Linked DNA regions of Homo sapiens: regions 1, 2, 3, 4, 5 and 7 are each linked to region 6. The links are contacts of gene promoters, found by promoter capture Hi-C in blood cells and fetal thymus (Javierre and others, 2016). All regions are on one chromosome and are shown on one strand. Each heading gives the region's core, a stretch centred on a gene start or on the middle of the fragment in contact. The rest is flanking DNA. Distances are from core to core; before and after follow the strand shown.

Region 1 (2,700 bases), core at 140-2,639, 320 kb before region 6:
TTGTTTTTAGTTTTTATTATATGCAAGCATATTTATTTTATGGAGGTTGAGTAGGAAACCTAAGCTAAAGGAAGCCTCAGTGATATAGTTCAAAACTTGGAATGGCTCTCCCAGTAGCTATAGTCCTCGGTACTGTATTTCCTGAAATCCATGTCTCATCCCTTCTTGTAAGTATGGAACACACCCAGTGGCTCACGCCTGTAATCCCAGCACTTTGGGAGGCTGAGGTGGGCGGATCACTTGAGGTCAGGAGTTCGAGACCAGCTTGGCCAACATGGTGAGACCCCATCTCTAATAAAAATATAAAAATTAGCCAGGCATGGTGGTGTGTGCCTGTAGTCCCAGCTACTCAGGAGGTTGAGGCAGGAGAATCTCTTGAACCCAGGTGGCAGAGGTTGCAGTGAGCCAAGATTGCGCCACTGCACTCCAGCCTGGGTAACAGGGTGAGACTCCGTCTCAAAAAAAAAAAAAGTATGGAACACACCAACACTTGTGATTTCCTCTAGGGAATGGAATTCAGAATGGGAGTCACCTTTGGATTTTTTGAAATATAGTTCTGTATTGGTGAGACTGCTTTAACAACTTGTATTTCTTCTGTGGTTGTGCTTTGGATGAATATAGCCCATCCAAGGTGACTTCTTTACAAACACTGAACAACTTTGGGTGGTAGGGAAGTGGGAACTGCATTACTCTCTGATATAATAACTAACCACACCATTTTCATTTTGCTTTGCCAGGGTGAGTTCTGCATCCTGGTACTTCCTCAATGTATTTGGGCTTCGGAGCATTTACTCTCTGATTCTGGGCCAAGATAATGGTAAGAAGCATGTCAGGTTTACTAAGCAAATACTTCCATAGATGAATCATCCATATTAGAGCCAGAAAAGTCTTGTAGGTTGTGCTGTTTGTTACCATAGTCAAATAAAATGTTTCCTTCCTTAAGTTTCTGAGGTATTCTGAAAGAGTCTTAAAAATTCCGGGGGTCAAACTGAAGATCTCAATTCTCTCTGGCAATGACTGGGACAGTATTTTGATTCCCCAGAGTCTGATACCATCATGTGAGGGATCCAGCACCAGCAGTGTAAGCCTGTGAACCTAAAGCTTAAAGAAGGCTTGGTTTGTCAGTTCATTGACTAGAGCCCTTGCCAGTACTAATCCTTGCTCTCTTGTTTACTGGCTGGGACCTCAGAAAAGTTACTTAACAAGTTACTTAACTTCGAATTCTCTATTTACTTATCTGTAAATAAGGACTTTATTAGTTAACCTGTGGGGTTGTTAGGAACAGATGAGGAAAAATATGCAAAGCACTTAGTGAAGTACTTGGCATGCAGTAGTTGCTCAATAACTGGTGGCTGTTATTGTTGAAATTTGAAATAAAGTTTAGAGCTTCCTTTAGTGATCTCTCTTTTGCTGTTACTGTCCCCATTTTTCAGGAGACACAAAGTGACTTTCCTAGAGTCACATAGCCAGTGGGTGACAGGGCCAGCCAGTGAGGCTGTAGTCCAGTTCTCTAATCTGTGTGAAGCCCATTCTTCCCCTTGGGTGCTGGGGTGCTTGCTGAGTCCTGGCACTCATGTAAGTGTGTCTTATGCTACAGCCGCTGACCAATCACGAATGATGCAGGAGCAGATGACGGGAGCAGCCATGGCCATGCCCGCAGACACAAACAAAGCTTTCAAGGTATACTCCTTCACCTTTCAAAGCTGCAGCAATGCTCTGAAAGGTGTTACCAAGAGCTATTTTAAAAATAGCTTCCTTGAAGGGAGTGTTGTGTGGTTCCATCGTTTTAATTTAAACTTAGTAAAAACATAGTTTACACGTCTCTCTTTCCTGAGACAGAATCATCTATTAAGTAAATGGAAATTCTTGGTGCTTTTACTGGTTTTTAAATGCTCACTGGAATTTAATCCACACTATCAATGATGCTGTAAAATAATCCAATCGGAGGTGCCAGGTAAACATTTAGAATAATTTGAACCTTTTTGAACCCCATAGACATCAGATATAAATTGCATTAAAAAAACAATACTAAGAGCCTTTTCACAAAAAGGTTCTAGAATTTGCAAAATTTAGTATGATTTTTGTGGGACAAAATCTCACTGTGTTTCATGATAGAAACTAAAAGAGAAGGGAAGTTCCGGCCAGGCACAGGGGCTCACACGTGTAATCCCAGCACTTTGGGAGGCCAAGGTGGGCAGATCACCTGAGTTCAGGAGTTCGACACCAGCCTGGACAACATGGTGAAACCCTGTCTCTATTAAAAATACAAAAATGGGCCAGGTGCGGTGGCTCACGCCTGTAATCCCAGCACTTTGGGAGGCCAAGGCAGGTGGGTCAGCTGAGGTCAGGAGTTCAAGACCAGCCTGGCCAACATGGTGAAACCTCTTTTCTACTAAAGATACAAAAAAAAAATTTGCTGGGCATGGTGGTGGGCACCTGTAATCCCAGTTACTTGGGAGGCTGAGACAGAATTGCTTGAACTCAGGAGGTGGAGTTTGCAGTGAGCTGAGATTGATTGCACCATTGCACTCCAGCCTGGGCAACAAGAGCAAAACTCTGTCTCAAAAAAAAAAAAAAAATACAAAAATGAGCTGGGCACGGTGGCATGTGCCTATAATCCCAGCCACCCAGGAGGCTGAGGCAGGAGAATCACTGGAACCTGGGAGGCGGAGGCTGTAGTGAGCCAAGATCGTGCCACTG
Region 2 (2,700 bases), core at 201-2,700, 360 kb before region 6:
CAAGATTGTGCCACTGCACTCCAGCCTGGGCGACAGAGCGAGACTCTGCCTCAAAAAAAAAAAAAAAAAGAGACAGAATAAATAGTAAATAGTAAAATGCAAGAAGTGAGGCTTCACCACCCCACCTAGCTGATTTTTGTCTTCATCTGTGCAACTATGTTGGAGCAATCTTATTCCTCCTTTTCTTCGGTGGACACATGCAGCAAAATCTTAATAGAAGTGAAAGATGCGTCCTCCGGCAGCCCTGTGGCAGCCCCAGTTTCTTTTCTTTTCTTTTTTTTTTTTTTTTTTTTTGAGACGGAGTCTCACTCTGTCCCCCAGGCTGGAGTGCAGTGGCACAATCTCGGCTCACTGCAAACTCCACCTCCCAGGTTCACGCCACTCTCCTGCCTCAGCCTTCTGAGTAGCTGGGACTATAGGTGCCCGCCACCAAGCCTGGCTAATTTTTTGTATTTTTAGTAGAGATGGAGTTTCACCATGTTAGCCAGGATGGTCTCGATTTCCTGACCTCGTGATCCTCCCGCCTTGGCCTCCCAAAGTGCTGGGATTACAGGCATGAGCCACTGCGTCCGGCTGCGGCAGCCCCAGTTTCTTGTTGGCTAGGCTGATGTCACAGCCTCAGGCTGTCCAGCTTGGACAACACTGGCTTCCTGTGATGATTGTCGCTGGGCAAGGGACGTTTCTGGGTCTCTGCCACTGCTGCTGGTGGTGTGGGTGGAGGTAGAGGCCACAGCGTCACGCTGGGGGGCTTTGCCAAAACTGTCCGGCTTCCTCTGCAGGCTGGCAGGGGCACTGGCAGGAACAGTGGTCTTCTGCTGAATGCTGAATATGGGACAAGCTGGCTCGCTGTGAGCCTGCTTCAGTGGGAGAGAGAAGGTGGAAACTTCAGTGGATAGAGAAGGACAGGTGGGAACCCCAGGAGGAAGGGACCATGGTCTGATGGTGGACTGCTTCTTTTGTTTGTTCTAAAATGAGGTAGGTGGCCATAGGATAGTGAAACGCTTTTTCTTTGATTGGCACAGAGATGTTCTTGGCCTGGAATCCCATGGCCACCATGAGCTGGGTGGTATGTTGGCTCATGGCTCTTTGTATGTTGTCCGTGGCATCTCCTAACCACAGTTCACCCACCAGTCCCTCAAAACTTCTTTCAGTGGGGGCCACTCCCTGGGTTCTAGTGTTAGTAACTTTTGAATGAATCTTTCAAGTTGAAGGGAAAAAAAATGGTGAGGCGTGGTAGCTTCCTGTGAAAATTTGATTCTTGAGGTCCATCGTGTTCCCTGAATAGAAGGGTAGGGCCCCGGCCACCATATGGTAGAGTATGACGCCAAGGCCCCATATGTCCATGGCAGGGCACTGGTACCCCCAGCCCAGGAAGAGTTCTGAGCAGGAATGGTGGTCTTCTGCCTTCACTTCTCGCCGTCCTTGGGCAGTCAAAAATTAAAAGTGGGAACAGCTGGCTCCCTTTGAGCCCTCTTTGGTTCCACAAGGAAGGCAGACTTTGTCAGATGGGGAAGAACAGGTGGGACCCCCAGGAGGAAGGGCTGTGCTCCAATGATGGAGCGCTTCCTCCTCTGTACTTTTCTCTACCCCAGGATTAGGTACGTGGCCATGGGATAATCACATATGTATTTTTTGTTGGGGAGAATATTGATTCCGAGATGTGTGCTGCTTGGAATCCCATGGCCACCATTACCAGGGTTGTAGGGGGCATAGGTGTCCAGGGTCTCTGTATGGTGTCAGCAGTGTCTTCTGGCCAGCATTGACCCAGGGGTCCCACGTCAGCTGGTTTAGTGGGGGCCACTCCCTGGGGTCGAGGCTGAGGAATTGTTTTACTAGTGTTTCCAGTGGAAACGAAGAAATAGGTGGGCAGTCATACTGTCACATAGCCTGAGGCAGGAAGGGACCACGGGTGGGGCTGGATGTTTTTCAGCCTCCCTGGCAGAGATCACTGACAGAGTGGTCAGCTTGGCCAAGTTTCTGCGGTGGCTGGCAGAAGAGGGAGAGGGAGGCAGTCCCCAGAGCAGGAATGCCTTCCCTTGCAGGGGAAAAACCGGCCATCCTCCCCTCAGAGCCTCCTTCACTGCAGCCCGTGGGAAGTGAGTGACCTGGGGGATCCGTGCCCCAGGGGCTAACCTCTGGGCTCTGGCTTAGCCCCACCCCGGGGAAACATTCACAGCCCCTCCTGAAGAGAGCCTTGCTGCAGGAAGACTCTGGCGGCGGGTGTGGGGGGGTGGTGCCCAGCTGGGAGAGTTCTGGGCTGTTGGTGGCAGTACCCCAGGCTCCAAACTCTCTGGGCCTGGGGGCAATTCCCTTCCCTGAGTACAACAGATTCCCACCCCGCCCTGCCCTACTGCCCGCCCCGCAGGGAAGTGGCCCAGGAGAGGAGGCGTGGACAGGTATCCCAGTGACTCCAGTCGGAGTCAGCTTGGGTAGCATGGCCCGCGGAAGACAGACCGGGCGAACGGGGCGGGCCCCAGGCTACCGAGCTGCAGCTGACAGGCAGTCCGGCGGCGTCGGGTCTCCATGGATACGGGGGTGGGGCCAGGCGGCGGCGAGCGGCGGCGGGCGGGGCTTTTAACGGCCATCGGCCCCTCCCAGCCTGGACAAAGACACAGAGCGCGGCCTGGGAGGCGGAGCTCTGCGGGCGGCCGGGGCCGCCTCCTTCCAGGCGCTGCTGCCCCAACACAGGCGGGCACTCTC
Region 3 (2,700 bases), core at 30-2,529, 380 kb before region 6:
AGCTGAGGCAGAATGGTGTGAACCTGGGAGGTGGAGCTTGCAGTGAGCAGAGATCGCGCCACTGCACTCCAGCCTGGGCGACAGAGCAAGACTCCGTCTCAAAAAAAAAAAAAAAAAAAAGACTTAGCTTTGATAGCAGATAGCCACTAAGTGTTCTAAAAAAGACCTGCCATAACCTTAGCAAGATAGAATAATCTGCTCCCCCAAAACAGAATCTTATATGGCTTTATAAATTTTCTTCTGAAATTATTCTGACACTGATACAGCTGCTTTCTGGATATTTATTTTTTCATAAGAAAACACAAAATAAATAATATATAATATTTTTTCTAATAAAAGGATGAGAAATGCTTTACTTAAGACATAGTAATGAGGACCAAAGACTGTACCATTTTCTTTTTCCATTTTTGTTTTTTGGAAATGGAGTCTCACTCTTGTCGCCCAGGCTGGAGTGCAGTGGTGCGATCTTGACTCACTGCAACTTTCACCTCCCGGGTTCAAGCAATTCTCCTGACTCAGGCGCCCAAGCAGCTGGGACTACAGGCACATGCCACCATGCCCGGCTAATTTTTTATATTTTAGTAGAGACGTGTTGCCCAGGCCGGTCGCAAATTCCTGAGCTCAGGCAATCCGCCTGCCTCGAGCCTCCCAAAGTGCTGGGATGATAAACGTGAGCCACCGCGCCCGGCCTGACTGTACCATTTTCTAAAAAGCAATTTCAACTTTGTCTCAAGATGGATGGCCCTCTGATTTCTAATCTTCATTGCCTCTCTATTTAGAAAACCCATGATTCAGTCCTGAACTATTTCATTAAACCCAGAGAATAAAATTAGATTAAAATATTACCTAGTTGATTCTGACTCTCTCCCGTTTTAAGAATAATTCCTGATATCTTAAGAAGCTTTACAAAGATGCTGTCATTTTCTTCAACTTCATTAGCAATATGAGATTTCTTTGTCTTTTTGGAAAGTGGTTGCTTCCTGGTTTCTGAAAATAGAAAAATTTTCAAGAATATGGCAAATAGTAAAGGAAAAATTAAAACTTAAACCCAGGAATAATAATCATGAGAGGAAAACTGATGTGTCCTTAAAAATTATACTAGGATTGATGCTGTAGTGAAATAAACTGTCTTCAGCAATAGTGGCTTCCAAAACAAACAAATAGAATTATTTTCACCTATTTTCATTTGAAGAATTCAAAATGTGCCATTTCTGGCCAGGCAAGGTGGCTCATGTGGTAATCCCAGCAAATTAGGAGGCCAAGGCAGGAGGATCACTTGAAGCCAGGAGTTCAAGACCAGCCTGGGCAACAAAGTGAGACCACCCCCCCATCTCCCCCCCTTCACCCCCATTCCCCCCCTCCACACACAAACTAGTTAGGTGAGGAGACGCACACCTGTAGTCCCAGCTACTTCGGAGGCTAAGGCGGAAGAATAACTTGAGCCCAGGAGGTTGAGGCTATAGTGAGCTATGATATTACCACTGCACTCCAGCCTGGGTGACAGAGTGAAATCCCCATCTCTAAAAAAATAAATTCAAACAAATAAGTGCCTAACAAGAATAACCCACAGAAATGTTTTCCACCCAAATACTAAACTAGCCAGTGTCTCTCAAGCTGTTGCCTGCAAACCACTGTACTGGAATCCCTGGGAAGCTTATTAAAATGCATATTTCCGACCCAGCACAGTGGCTCACGCCTGTAATCCCAGCACTTTGGGAGGCCGAGGCAGGCTGATTACCTGAGGTCAGGAGTTCAAGACCAGCCTGGCTAACGTGGTGAAACCCCATCTCTACTAAAAATACAAAATTAACTGGGTGTGGTGGCGTGCGCCTGTAATACCAACTACTCGGGAGGCTGAGGAGGAGAATCACTTGAACCCGGGAGGCAGAGGTTGCAGTGAGCCCAGATCGCGCCACTTCACTCCTGCCTGAGCAACAGAGTGACACTCTGTCTCAAAGGAAAAAAAAGGCATATTCCATGCCATATACCAGAGTTACTGAGTCAAAATCTTGGGAATGGGACCTAGGAATCCGAATTTTTTATGTTCTTCAGATAATAATCCTGATACACACCAAATTTGAGACTCAATGATCTGAATAAAGGGTAGACAGAATGGGGAAGGTTCTTTGTATCATATCTTTGACTACAATGCTCAGATAGGTTTAATCCCAAGACTTTCAACCCATAAAAAGAAATAAGAAACAAGAAACAAACAGGTACTTGAAGCCAAGTTTAAAATTTACTCTTCTCCCTTAATGATGCCATTTTGTTTTTTCCTTCTTCAATTCCTCTCCCTCTTTCTTTTTTTTTTTTTTTTGAAATGGAGTCTTGCTCTGTCGCCCAGGCTGGAGTGCAGTGGCGCGATCTTGGCTCACTGCAAGCTCCGCCTCCCGGGTTCATGCCATTCTCCTGCCTCAGCCTCCCAGTAGCTGGGACTACAGGTGCACACCACCACGCCCGGCTAATTTTTTGTATTTTTAGTAGAGACGGGGTTTCACCATGTTAGCCAAGATGGTCTCAATCTCCTGACCTCGTGATCTGCCCGCCTTGGCCACCCAAAGTGCTGGGATTACAGGCGTGAGCCACCGTGCCTGGCCTCCTTTCCCTCTTTCTAATAAAGCCTTAATCAGAATGAGACAAAGACCACTACCTTCCTGAATGAAATGTAAAACACAACCAGAATGAAAGTTTCAGTTTGTT
Region 4 (2,709 bases), core at 56-2,555, 510 kb before region 6:
ATCAAATTATGTAGCCTATATAGAACACCTACTACAGGGCTTTCCTCGCACAGAGAATGTGCCCAAAAAATGGTAGCTGTCATTAGTGGTCTTGAAAAGGCACCCACTGGCCTTGGAGTCCTATCAAGTTTGGAGACCTGGTTCAGCCACTCTCCGGCTCTTAGTCCTTTGAGCCAGTTCTGTTTTCCCTTTTGGAAACTGGATCTCCTGCTGCAGCCACTTGGAAGGATTGTTATGAAGCCTAAATGGACTCCAAAACGCTCAAGATCAACTGTGAAGTGCTGAGCCCAGTAAAGGATTACTATTATGTCCTCCTTGATGTTGAAAGTGGGACATATTTCAGTGTTCTGAGACTACTTTTCAAGTGAAGTCCTGTGTTTTCAGCAGTGGCTGAAGGTGGACTTGGGAACTGTAATGATTGTTTGCCATAGGCTGGGTGGAGAAGCATCTCCATCCCAGGCACACGGGGGTAAAAGAGAATAAAGATCCTCTTCTTTTTCTCCTTTTCTCTTTTTGCAGAGTCCCCTACCTGCTTCTCCTTCTCTTCCGCAAGCAGCGTGTGTGTAGAGCTCCTCCCTCAGTGCCACAGGGCCTCTTCCCTGGGGTGAGGCTTTAAGACCACGGAAGTTTCACATTCAGCCTTGGTCAATCCTGGAAGGCAGAGGAGCCCCCACTGCTCTCTCTGCTGCATCCTCAGGCCCTTCCCGCAATTCCTTCTCACCCCAGCCTCAGGGCTTGGGATCTGTGTCCTAGGATTCTGTCTTCCAGAGAAGCTTGAGTCATTTTGGGCCTGAGCAGGTCATCACAGGGACACATCTCAGTTACCACTCTTTAGAATAAGTTCTTCAAAGTAAGGTCTTTGCTATTACTAATGGTTGCCCTTCACCTACCAACTCACCTAGCAGGCATTTAGCATACATTATCTGTAATCCATACAACCCTGCAAAGGTTTATTGTTTCTGTTTTACAGATGAAGAAACTGAGGCTGAAGTCAATTGTAACTGGGCCAAGTTGGCCAAGTGACAGTGAGGTAGGGGGCAGCACTCGACTCGAAAGGAATGGCTGGGACATCGGACCAAATTGAGGACTAGCTAAAACAGGTGTGGTGGGAAGTACCTCGCATAAGACACTGCCACCAGTGTACCTTGTCAGTTTACCATTGCCATGGCGACTCCAAGAAGTCACCGCCCCTTTCTAGAATGTTCTGCATAAACTGCCCCTTAATTTGCATATAATTAAAAGTGTGTATAAATGTGACTGTAGAACTGCCTCTGAGCCACTACTCTGGGCACACTGCCTATGGAGTAGCCCTACCCTGCAAGGAGCAGTACCTCTGCTGCGGCTGCACACTGCTATTTCAATAAAAGGTGCTATTTAACACCACTGGCTGGCCCTGGAATTCCTTTCTGGGTGAAGCTAAGAACCCTCCCAGGCTAAACCCCAATTTGGGGGCTTGCCTGTCCCGCATCAACAGGATGCAACTCAAGTCTGACCCAAAGCAAATGCTCTTTCTGCTGTGTTATACTGCCTCACCACAAGAAATTTCCTCTGATCTTGCAGTTAATTTCTTCCTCTGGCTATTTTCCATGACCAACACCCACCAGGATCAGTTAGAAACAGTTATTGAGGCTGAATGTAATTAATTACACACTTACGTCATTTTGAGCTGTTCAAGTTTAATTCCCTTGAAATTATAGTCAGTGGTTTGCAACCCTGGCTGCACAGTAGAAACATCTGGGGTGCTTTTAAAAAGTATAAATGCCTAGCCCTACCTCCAGGGAGACAGATTCAATTATTCTGGAGTGGGGCTCAGGCACTACTGTTTTTTAAAGCTTCCCAGATAATTCTAATATGTGCTGGCACAGTTGAGAACCAGTCATATCAGAAAGCTGGGGCAGAGGCCAAGCATGGTGGCTCATGCCTGCAATCCCAGCACTTTGGGAGACCGAGGTGGGTGGATCACTTGAGGTCAGGAGTTCGAGACCAGCCCAACCAACACGGCGGAACCCCGTTTCTACTAAAAATACAAAAAAATTCGCTGGGCGTGATGGCACGCACCTGTAATCCCAGCTACTTGGGAGGCTGAGGCAGGAGAATCATTTGAACCCGGGAGGTGGAGACTGCACTGAGCCAAGATCATACCACTGCACTCCAGACTGGGGGACACAGTGAGACTCCATATCAAAAAAAAAAAAAAAAAAAAAAAAAAAGCTGGAGCAGGAGGGAAGACTGATGAAAGGAGAATAATAAAGCTTCTCTATGCACTTTGCATATATTTTTCTTTTTTTTTCTCTCTTTTTGAGACGGAGTTTTGCTCTTGTTGCCCAGGCTGGAGTGCACTGGTGTGATCTTGGCTAACCGCAACCCCTGCCTCCTGGGTTCAAGCAATTCTCCTGCCTCAGCCTCCTGAGTAGCTGGGGTTACAGGCATGTGCCACCACACCCAGCTAATTTTGTATTTTGAGTAGATACGAGGTTTCTCCATGTTGGTCAGGCTGGTCTCAAACTCCTGACCTCAGGTGATCCACCCACCTCGGCCTCCCAAAGTGCTGGGATTACAGGCATGAGCCACCGCGCCCGGCTATATTTTTTTTTAACAAAAATATCTTTATTGGTTTCTCTGATAGCATGTGATATTTGTCAAAGACAGAAAGAAAGAGAAAACAAACACCTTCCCATAACCTCATCCCTGAGGAATCACCATTATTGT
Region 5 (2,700 bases), core at 112-2,611, 310 kb after region 6:
ACTTCCTGGTGGGCTCAAGCAATACCCTCACCTCAGCCTCCAGAGTAGCTGGGACTACCACCCCTGGCTGTTTATTTTTATTTTTGCAGGGACAGGTGTCTCCCTGTTTTGTCCAGGCTGGTCTCAAACTCCTGGCCTCAGGCAATTTTCCTGCCTGGGCCTCCCGAATTGCTGAGATTACATGTGTGAGCCATCATGCCTGGCCTGCTTTTCTGTTCTTGAACCTGCAACAGTTCTCCCAGTCTTTGAGTCACAATCTGGCTTGTACATTAAAATGATCATTCTACTGGTAGAAGTATTGGATAAGACCTTTCTGGGAGAGTATTTGGCAACAGGTTTAGAGTCTTAAATATGTAGCCTCCTTGGCTTTTTTTTTTTGAGACGGAGTCTCGCTCTGTCACCAGGCTGGAGTGCAGTGGTGCAATCTCAGCTCACTGCAACCTCTGTCTCCCAGGTTCAAGTGATTCTCCTGCCTCAGCCTCCTGAGTAGCTGGGACTACAGGCGCACGCCACCACACCCAGCTAATTTTTGTATTTTTAGTAGAGACAGGGTTTTTCACCATGTTGGCCAGGATGGTCTTGATTTCCTGACCTCGTGATCCACCCGCCTAGGCCTCCCAAAGTGCTGGGATTACAGGCATGAGCCACCACGCTTGGCCAATATTTTTTTAATATTAGGAAATATAGAAAGGTAGTAGGGGGTTGGTTAAACAAATGATGCTATTTCCATTGGATAAAATCTCCTGTTTTCTTTCTTTCTTTTTTTTTGTTTTTTGTTTTTGAGACGGAGTCTGACTTTGTCACCTAGGCTGGAGTGCAGTGGTGTGATCTCGGCTCACTGCAACCTCCGCCTCCCGGCTCCAAGCAATTCTCCTGCCTCAGTCTTCTGAGTAACTGGGGATTATAGGTGCCTGCCGTCACACCTGGCTAATTTTTGTATTGTTTTTATTTTTGGTTTTTTTTGAGACGGAGTCTCTGTTGCCCAGGCTAGAGTCCGGTGGCACGATCTCAGCTCATTGCAACCTCTGCCTCCCAGGTTCAAGCGATTCTCCTGCCTCAGCCTCCTGAATAGCTGGAATTACAGGCACCCACCACAATGCCCAGCTAATTTTTGTATTTTTAGTAGAGACGGATTTTCACCATGTTGGCCAGGCTGATCTCCAACTTCTGACCTCAGGTGATCCGCCCGCCTCGGCCTCCCAAAGTTCTGGGATTACAGGCGTGAGCCACCGTGCCCAGCCAATTTTTGTATTTTTAGTAGAGATCGGCTTTCACCACGTTGGCCAGGCTGGTCTCCAACTCCTGACCTCAGGTGATCTGCCCGTCTTGGCCTCCCAAAGTGCTGGGATTACAGGTGTGAGACACCGTGCCCACGCTATTTTCATTATAAAAATGATAATGAGTGTTACTGATACAGAAAAATTGTTCCCAAGACTAATTTTTAATTATAATTTTTAAAAGTAGGGCAGGCTGTGTGTGGTGGCTCATGCCTGTAATCCTAGAACTTTAGGCAGATTAGAAGTTCGAGGCCAGCCTGGGCAACATGGCAAAACCCTGTCCCTACAAAAAATACAAAAATTAGCTGGGCATGATACTGTGCGCTGTAGTCCTGCTCCTCGGGATGCTGAGGTCGGAGGATAGCTTGAGACTGGGAGGTCAAGGCTGCAGTGAGCCATTATTGTGTGTCTGCACTCTAGCCTGGGTGACAGAGAAAGACCCTGTCTCAAAAAATTTAAAAGTAGAGCATATAAGAGTATGCATAATATAATCTTTTTAATATAAAGATGTATGCCTATTCATAGAAAATGGCTAGAAGTATATATAATACAATGCTACTAGTAATTGTGTTTTTGTACTATTAAGGATTTTTCTGAAATGTCTACAATAAACATATATGACTTCTATAAAAAAGAAAAAAGTATTTACAAATACTTGAAACAAAAGATTACTTTGGCAGCATTTATGAGAATGTGAATGAGAGAGACTGGATGAGAGATTGTTGTAGTAGTTCGGGAAAAAGGCAATGTAAGTAAGAACCAAGGTCATGGTGTGGATGGAGAAGGAAAAGCTGATTTAAGACATATTCAACAGCCCTACGAGGACTATAAACACATACCACACCTTCAAGTCAATAATAAAATTGGTCTTTCAAAGAGCCAGCATGATTCTTCCATATCCTTAAAGTATCTTCAAATACGCATTTGAAGAAACTTGGGGTTTTGGCTTTCCAGCTTGTTTAGCTACGTTAATGGACATACAGTTGAGCAAAAAGGAGAATATGAGAGGAGGATCAGACTGTGGAAGAAGACAATAAATTTAATTTTGCATGTGTGCAGTTTGAAGGGCTTGTGGGAGATGTACTAAGAGCTGAGCAGGGGATGCCAGGGGACAAGGAGTCCAGTGAGAAGATCGAAGAGGCATGGTGGGCCCGGACAGCCCAGAATGGGCTAGTCTGGGTTGAAAGCCTGGCAAGAATGACCAGTTGGACAAGTTCGAGGTTGCTTTCATTTCAGCTTTCTGTGAAACCTGCAAGTAATCAGAACAGGCACAGGAAATGAGAATAATAAAAGCGAATGAGTACACTCTGGAGGTTCTTCTGCCTCCTCATGGAGTTGTAACCAAAGTTCAAGGGTGAGTGAAGCCATTCTCAAATCTGATCTTCAATTCACTGTTTTTCAGGTAGGGAAAGCCCTCAAGAGT
Region 6 (2,700 bases), core at 154-2,653:
TTGAGGCAGGGAGAATTGCTTGAACTGGGGAGGCGGAGGATGCAGTAAGCTGAGATTGCGCCACTGCACTCCAGCCTAGGCGACAAAGCGAGACTCCTTCTCAAAAGAAAAAAAAAAAAAAAGCAAATTCCAGGATCCCACCCCCAGAAATTCTGACTTGGTAGGACTGGGTGGGACTAAGGAATCTCTGTTTTCACAAAGTATCCCATAAGCACAAATTTTAAAAGTACCCCAGATGATCATTAAACAGGTGGTCCCCAGACTATACTTGGAAAAATTACTTGGCCATTTGGAGAGTGAGGAAGTCCAATCCTTACTGAAGTCTTCCCTGGGTTACTTCAGAGACTACAAGATGCCAACTACAGAATAGCAACTCACGGTAATCTCTGAGGTCAAATCAGAGTTCTGTGGTGCAGGATGGAACAGAATTCCACTGGAAAACTTGGTGCTAAAGCTGCCAAAACCACGTGGGGGAATGAGATGGCAGGGTCGGCAAGATTCCCACCGCACTGCCAGCCAGTGCTTAGGGTGGGGATGGCCTGAGCTGACAGGAAGCCCTCCAGGTCTGGCGATAAGACGACTGGGTGGAAATCCCAAAGGGAGCAAAAAGAGGAACGGAGACCTGCTTTAGATAAAGGAACTGAAAGGGAGTGTGGGTTGTCTTCCTGCTCTATAGGGGAAGGAAAGGGATGGGCCTAAGTCATGCTGAGACCTTATAAGGGGGCAGCACACTGGGTTCACCTCCTGGCTCCATTCTGACCTCTGACCCCGAGGAATCGTCTCCCTATTTTTCTTAGCTTTTTCTTGGGGCTTTTTCCCTGACACAACTCATCCTACGGCACCTGAAGCAGGGAATAGACCTTCCTTAGGTCCTCCTCTCTGATCTTTGAACCTGGCCCCTCAGCTTGATCTCTCACCTCCAGACCCCTTCTCAAACAAGAAGGACCTCTTTGCTGGGCTCATTCTGACCCCAGTTCCTCCTTTTATGGTTGTCAAGACCGACTCTTATACTCCGGATACAGACCCTGGAGAACTCCTCTCTCTCTCTCCTCTTCCTCAGCGGCGAGGTACCACTCCTACCTTTTTCTGACCCCTGGCCTCAGCCTTTCCTCTGTAACTTCCCAAGTTAGGAGCCTTCCCCAGCTCATCGCACCTCCAATCTCACCTTAGAGCCGCCGGTCCCGCTGCCATCCTTGGCCCGGTACTGAGTCCGGGAGAACTCCTCCAGCAGCTCCCCAAGCCCCAGCTCCTGAGGCGGCTGGTTGCCTGAAGAGGCCGAGGACCCCGCCGAGGCAGCGGCGGCGGCGGCCCGAGCGCCGGCCATGGCCCAGCCCCGCGTCCCCTCAGTGTGCCTCAAGCGGGCCCATGGCACCTGCCTGCACCCAACTCCGACACTAGAACCTCCGGAACCGCCTCAGCCACCGCCTTCTACTTCCACTTCCACTTCCGGCCCCGCCCCGTCCCGCCGGATGTTTACTCCGACTCTGGCCAATCGGAGCTCTGGACCCGCGCCCCGCCTACGATTACTGGCCCGCCCCCGGCGCAGAGCGATCCTTCTATCCACCAGGGAGGCCACTGGCTGATACCGCGTGATCCGCCCCAAGGGGTTTCCCCCGGGGAAGCCGGGCTCAACCATTGGGCTGCCGGGGGAGGGGGGTAGCAGGAAGGAACCATTGAAAAGAACCAGAGGAAAAGTGGAATCAACAATTACAGGGAAGCCGAGCGTGGTGGCTCACACCTGTCATCCCAGCACTTTGGGGGGCCGAGGCGGGCGGATCACTTGAGGCCAAGAGTTCGAGACCAGGCTGCCAAAATGGTGAAACCGCATCTCTACTAAAAATAAAAAAATTAGCCGGGCATGGTGACACCCACCTGTAATCCCAACTACTTGGGAGGCTGAGGCAGGAGAATCGCTTGAACCCATGAGGCTGAGGTTGCAATGAGCCGAAATCGAACCACTACACTCCAGCCTGGGTGACAGAGCAATACTCTGTCTTAAGAAAAAAAAAAAATTACAGGGCGAGGAGGAGAGAACGCTTGGAGGCAACAAATTAGTACTAGAAACCATAATGGCAGTGGTTACCAATATTAAAACATTTCAGCCGGCCGCGGTGTCTCACGCCTGTAATCCCAGCACTTTGGTAGGCCGAGGCAGGCGGATTATGAAGTGAGGCATTCGAGACCAGCCTGATCAACGCAGTGAAACCCCGTCTCTACTAAAAATACAAAAATTAGCCGCGCGTGGTGGCAGGTGCCTGTAATCCCAGCTACTCGGGAGGCTGAGGCAGGAGAATTGCTTGAACCCGGGAGGCGGAGAGTGAGCCGAGATCGCGCCACTGCACTCCAGCCTGGGTGACAGAATGAGACTCCGTCTCTAAAACAAAAACAAAAACACAACATTTCATAAAACCCTTTCTCCCCCTGCTGCTCACAACATCCCTGTGAGTACAGTGCATTATATCATCAGCCCTATTTTATTGAGGTAGAAACTGGGAGTCAGGGAGGTGAAGCGACTGCCTTGAAATTCTGTGATGAGAAGCCTCTCATTATTATTATTATTAGAATATTTCAGACATTCGCAAAAGTGGAGACAATAGTATAATGAACCCTCATGTACCCATTAACTGGTTTTGAACAATAATCAACATCTGCTTATCTATCCTGTTTAAGCAGTCCCTTCCCATCCAGGGAATTATTTTA
Region 7 (2,734 bases), core at 133-2,632, 340 kb before region 6:
TACTTCGTTAAAATCACAATCAACCCAGTCCCATCATCTATTATCTAGTAATGCTGGCTTCAGGAGATTTAGGAATATGCCAGTGTAACTTGACCATCCCGTCTTGACCTATTTCCCATATTTTATCAGTGAGCTCTACCTAAGCCCTCCTGATTTTGCTCCTGGGCGTAGTTTTCCTCTTTCTTTTTCCCATATGGGTTAAATTTTACCCTTTAGGTTGAGGTTGTACAAGATCAGTTGAAATTCCTCAAAAAGATGCCACTCAAGGAGCTAAAAGCTTTAAAGGTTTTCTCCATATAGTACAGGCTAGATTTGCATGTTTCCAAGCAAACATGGATCATGACAGTGTCTCTAAGACATTAAGAGGGTCCAGAAATGTCTTAGATGCCATTCTCCCTTTATACCGTCACTCCATAAGTCATAACAGAATTCTCAATTACAACAGCTACCTCATGTCAGCTGCAACTACTGCTCTATTTTAAATGTTTACAATTTTTTTTACAAATCTTCATTTTAAAAGTTCCATTCAGATGCGTTTTAACATTGCTAATAGGAAGAATATATGTACAAATACAAAATAAGACACTGTGCTTTACTTGCTTTCATAAACATTTTCCACAAATACAGTCCTCTCTCTCTGGATATATGCTATTAAAATGTGTCTCGGCCAGGCACGGTGGCTCATGCCTGTAATTGCAGCACTTTGGGAGGGCGAGGCAGGTGAATCACCTGAGCTCAGGAGTTCGAGACCAGGATGGCCAACATGGTGAAACCCTGTCTCTACTAAAAACACAAAAAATTAGCTGGGCATAGTGGCACGCGCCTGTAATCCCAGCCACTCAGGAGGCTGAGACAGGAAAACTGCTTGAATCCGGGAGGCGAAGGTTGCAGTGAGCCGAGATTGCGCCACTGTACTCCAGCCTGGGCAACAAGAACGAAACTCTGTCTTGAAAAAAAAAAAGTGTCTCATGTTTTGAAATAGACCAAATCTGTATCTTAATTTCAGACAAGAGAATTTTAGAGTTCAGAACACAGAGTTAGATCCACCAGTCAAATCTCTTCATTTCATCAAGGCTGGGAGTAAAATTGAGCTTTCCTGAGACCCAGTTCAGAGCTACTTTCCCTTCAGTAAGTTCCAACCAACAAAAAATAAGCATTAGATGATTCTTCCTTCCTCTGTTCCCTCCTTGCCAAAATAAGTATTTCAACATACCTGCTGGCAGTATGTGTCAAAAAACATAAACACATTATTTGTATAGGAGACTGCCAAATGAAATTCTACTCTAGTCTAGAGAGTGAAGCAAACTCTGAGCCAGCGACATAATGGATGAACACATATCCTTAAGAACCTTGAGTGGGGAAGAGTAGAGAGAGAAAAGAAGCTGTAGGAAACAGTACACAACCTAAGAGTTGCTTATCCTTTTGGAATGTCAGATCAGACTTCTCTTCCCCAACTCTCATTTTAACTTAAGAAATCTTAATCTTTGTTTTACACAGAATAATCCTTCACCATTCTGAGTTTTCTCTCAGGATCAATGGGAGTCCACATTTGGATATTAATTGACTGTTAAGCTCAAAGAAGTTAAGTTATAAGCCTAATAGTACATTCCTATCTGCTCGATTTGGGATTGGAGGCCAGATCTTCTAAATCCCGGTTTCCTCATGCAATCACACGACCCCCCAGGGATGTTCCACCTTGGTTATAATTTGAAGTTGGTCTATAAGGTTCAATGCTAACTAAACTGACTTTTTTAAAAGAAGTGATCATGCTCTATCAATAATGCAATATATAGACATTAATGGACCCAGAGTAAATAACCAGTTAATAAACATAGCTTCCTTATTGATACCATAATTTTAAAAAATCTTACATTTAGTAGTAAGCTGGGTATAATGCTTTATTGGGGAAAATGCAATGAAAAATTACATATGGTTTCCGTGTCTAGAAAATTACAGCCCAAAACACATATAACTGGCAGAAATAAACACAGAAAAGAACTGCTAGATGAAATAAGACAAACATTAAATCTATTCCTAAATATAAAATGTAAGATCCAATGAGGTATTCTCATTAGCTCCTAACCCAAACCCCAAACTACTGGCCCATCCAGTTTTCTAAGTTCTATACTGTTAATATACTGAACGTTCAGCCAGCAAAACATTATTCCCAGTTTATAAATTCCAGTTTGAATAATTTACATTTCCAGAGGAATTATCACCTAAAATCCAGTTTTGAATGGCCAAAGAGTGATAGTTCAAATAGGTCCATATTTACGTTTCTACTAGTTTCTACAGCCTGGTCCTATTCCCCTCAAGGTTTTTATAAGCTACTTAGAATAGGATACGAAAGGCTAGTTTGTCATAATTGCAAACTGCATTGAGATAGACAATTAAAATGTTAATGCAAAAATAAAATTCAAAAATTTCAATGGGTTTGAACAATGGACTGAAATAAGATGAAATTTTACATGAGAGCTGTAAAGCTTTCTGTTTTAGATTAAAAATCAATAGTCTCTGACACTTACTAAGTAATGAACAGAGAATGTACTCTGGAGCAGCTGTTCTTGAATGCAGCCTGATCGAATCTTATTTCTTAGCACCCTTTCAATGTACTTCTTTGTCTGAGTATTGGTGCTATAGATGATGAAAAGCATCACCAGGTCAATAAATATGCAATAATAGAAAAACAGTTAACCAATCAGTACATTTGCTACAATGAAACAGCAGCTTTTCC

Evidence for each region. Contacts are between HindIII fragments. The CHiCAGO score rates a contact against its expected background, and 5 or more counts as called.
Region 1: a fragment that was not itself captured here is called in contact with the fragment with the promoter of MTMR14 in region 6 in 1 of 17 cell types (neutrophils); the score reaches 8.7 in neutrophils.
Region 2: a fragment that was not itself captured here is called in contact with the fragment with the promoter of MTMR14 in region 6 in 1 of 17 cell types (neutrophils); the score reaches 6.2 in neutrophils.
Region 3: a fragment that was not itself captured here is called in contact with the fragment with the promoter of MTMR14 in region 6 in 3 of 17 cell types (neutrophils, monocytes and total B cells); the score reaches 8.5 in neutrophils.
Region 4: a fragment that was not itself captured here is called in contact with the fragment with the promoter of MTMR14 in region 6 in 1 of 17 cell types (neutrophils); the score reaches 5.9 in neutrophils.
Region 5: a fragment that was not itself captured here is called in contact with the fragment with the promoter of MTMR14 in region 6 in 1 of 17 cell types (neutrophils); the score reaches 7.6 in neutrophils.
Region 7: a fragment that was not itself captured here is called in contact with the fragment with the promoter of MTMR14 in region 6 in 1 of 17 cell types (neutrophils); the score reaches 5.9 in neutrophils.

The regions. Positions count from the first base shown.
Region 1 is chr3:9,968,699-9,971,398 of GRCh38, reverse strand. EMC3 (ER membrane protein complex subunit 3) reads left to right here. Exons shown (of 8, transcript NM_001394674.1): 6 at 738-817; 7 at 1,598-1,680. Among named protein-coding and RNA genes, the nearest start is that of EMC3, 17 kb to the left of the region's middle. The HindIII fragment of the contact is 571 bases long and covers 1,104-1,674 here.
Region 2 is chr3:10,011,080-10,013,779 of GRCh38, reverse strand. It overlaps a transcript of EMC3 not described here and the pseudogene MARK2P2. Among named protein-coding and RNA genes, the nearest start is that of FANCD2, 14 kb to the left of the region's middle. RefSeq lists an enhancer at 2,108-2,633 and a silencer at 2,432-2,661. The HindIII fragment of the contact is 6,602 bases long and covers 1-2,700 here.
Region 3 is chr3:10,031,119-10,033,818 of GRCh38, reverse strand. FANCD2 (FA complementation group D2) reads right to left here. Exons shown (of 44, transcript NM_001018115.3): 3 at 847-987. Among named protein-coding and RNA genes, the nearest start is that of FANCD2, 6.0 kb to the right of the region's middle. The HindIII fragment of the contact is 752 bases long and covers 904-1,655 here.
Region 4 is chr3:10,159,543-10,162,251 of GRCh38, reverse strand. No RefSeq gene overlaps it. Among named protein-coding and RNA genes, the nearest start is that of IRAK2, 4.0 kb to the left of the region's middle. The HindIII fragment of the contact is 1,059 bases long and covers 776-1,834 here.
Region 5 is chr3:9,342,714-9,345,413 of GRCh38, reverse strand. It overlaps a transcript of SRGAP3 not described here. Among named protein-coding and RNA genes, the nearest start is that of THUMPD3, 19 kb to the left of the region's middle. The HindIII fragment of the contact is 7,296 bases long and covers 1-2,700 here.
Region 6 is chr3:9,648,208-9,650,907 of GRCh38, reverse strand. It overlaps MTMR14 (myotubularin related protein 14), which reads right to left and starts at 1,403. Exons shown (of 19, transcript NM_001077525.3): 1 at 1,166-1,403. The coding sequence starts at 1,324. RefSeq lists silencers at 1,239-1,338, 1,439-1,548 and enhancers at 1,420-1,589, 876-1,771, 1,579-1,808. The HindIII fragment of the contact is 16,951 bases long and covers 1-2,700 here.
Region 7 is chr3:9,992,803-9,995,536 of GRCh38, reverse strand. All of the region lies in intron 2 of EMC3-AS1 (EMC3 antisense RNA 1), which reads right to left. It also overlaps a transcript of EMC3 not described here and the pseudogene FANCD2P1. Among named protein-coding and RNA genes, the nearest start is that of EMC3-AS1, 7.3 kb to the right of the region's middle. The HindIII fragment of the contact is 2,206 bases long and covers 280-2,485 here.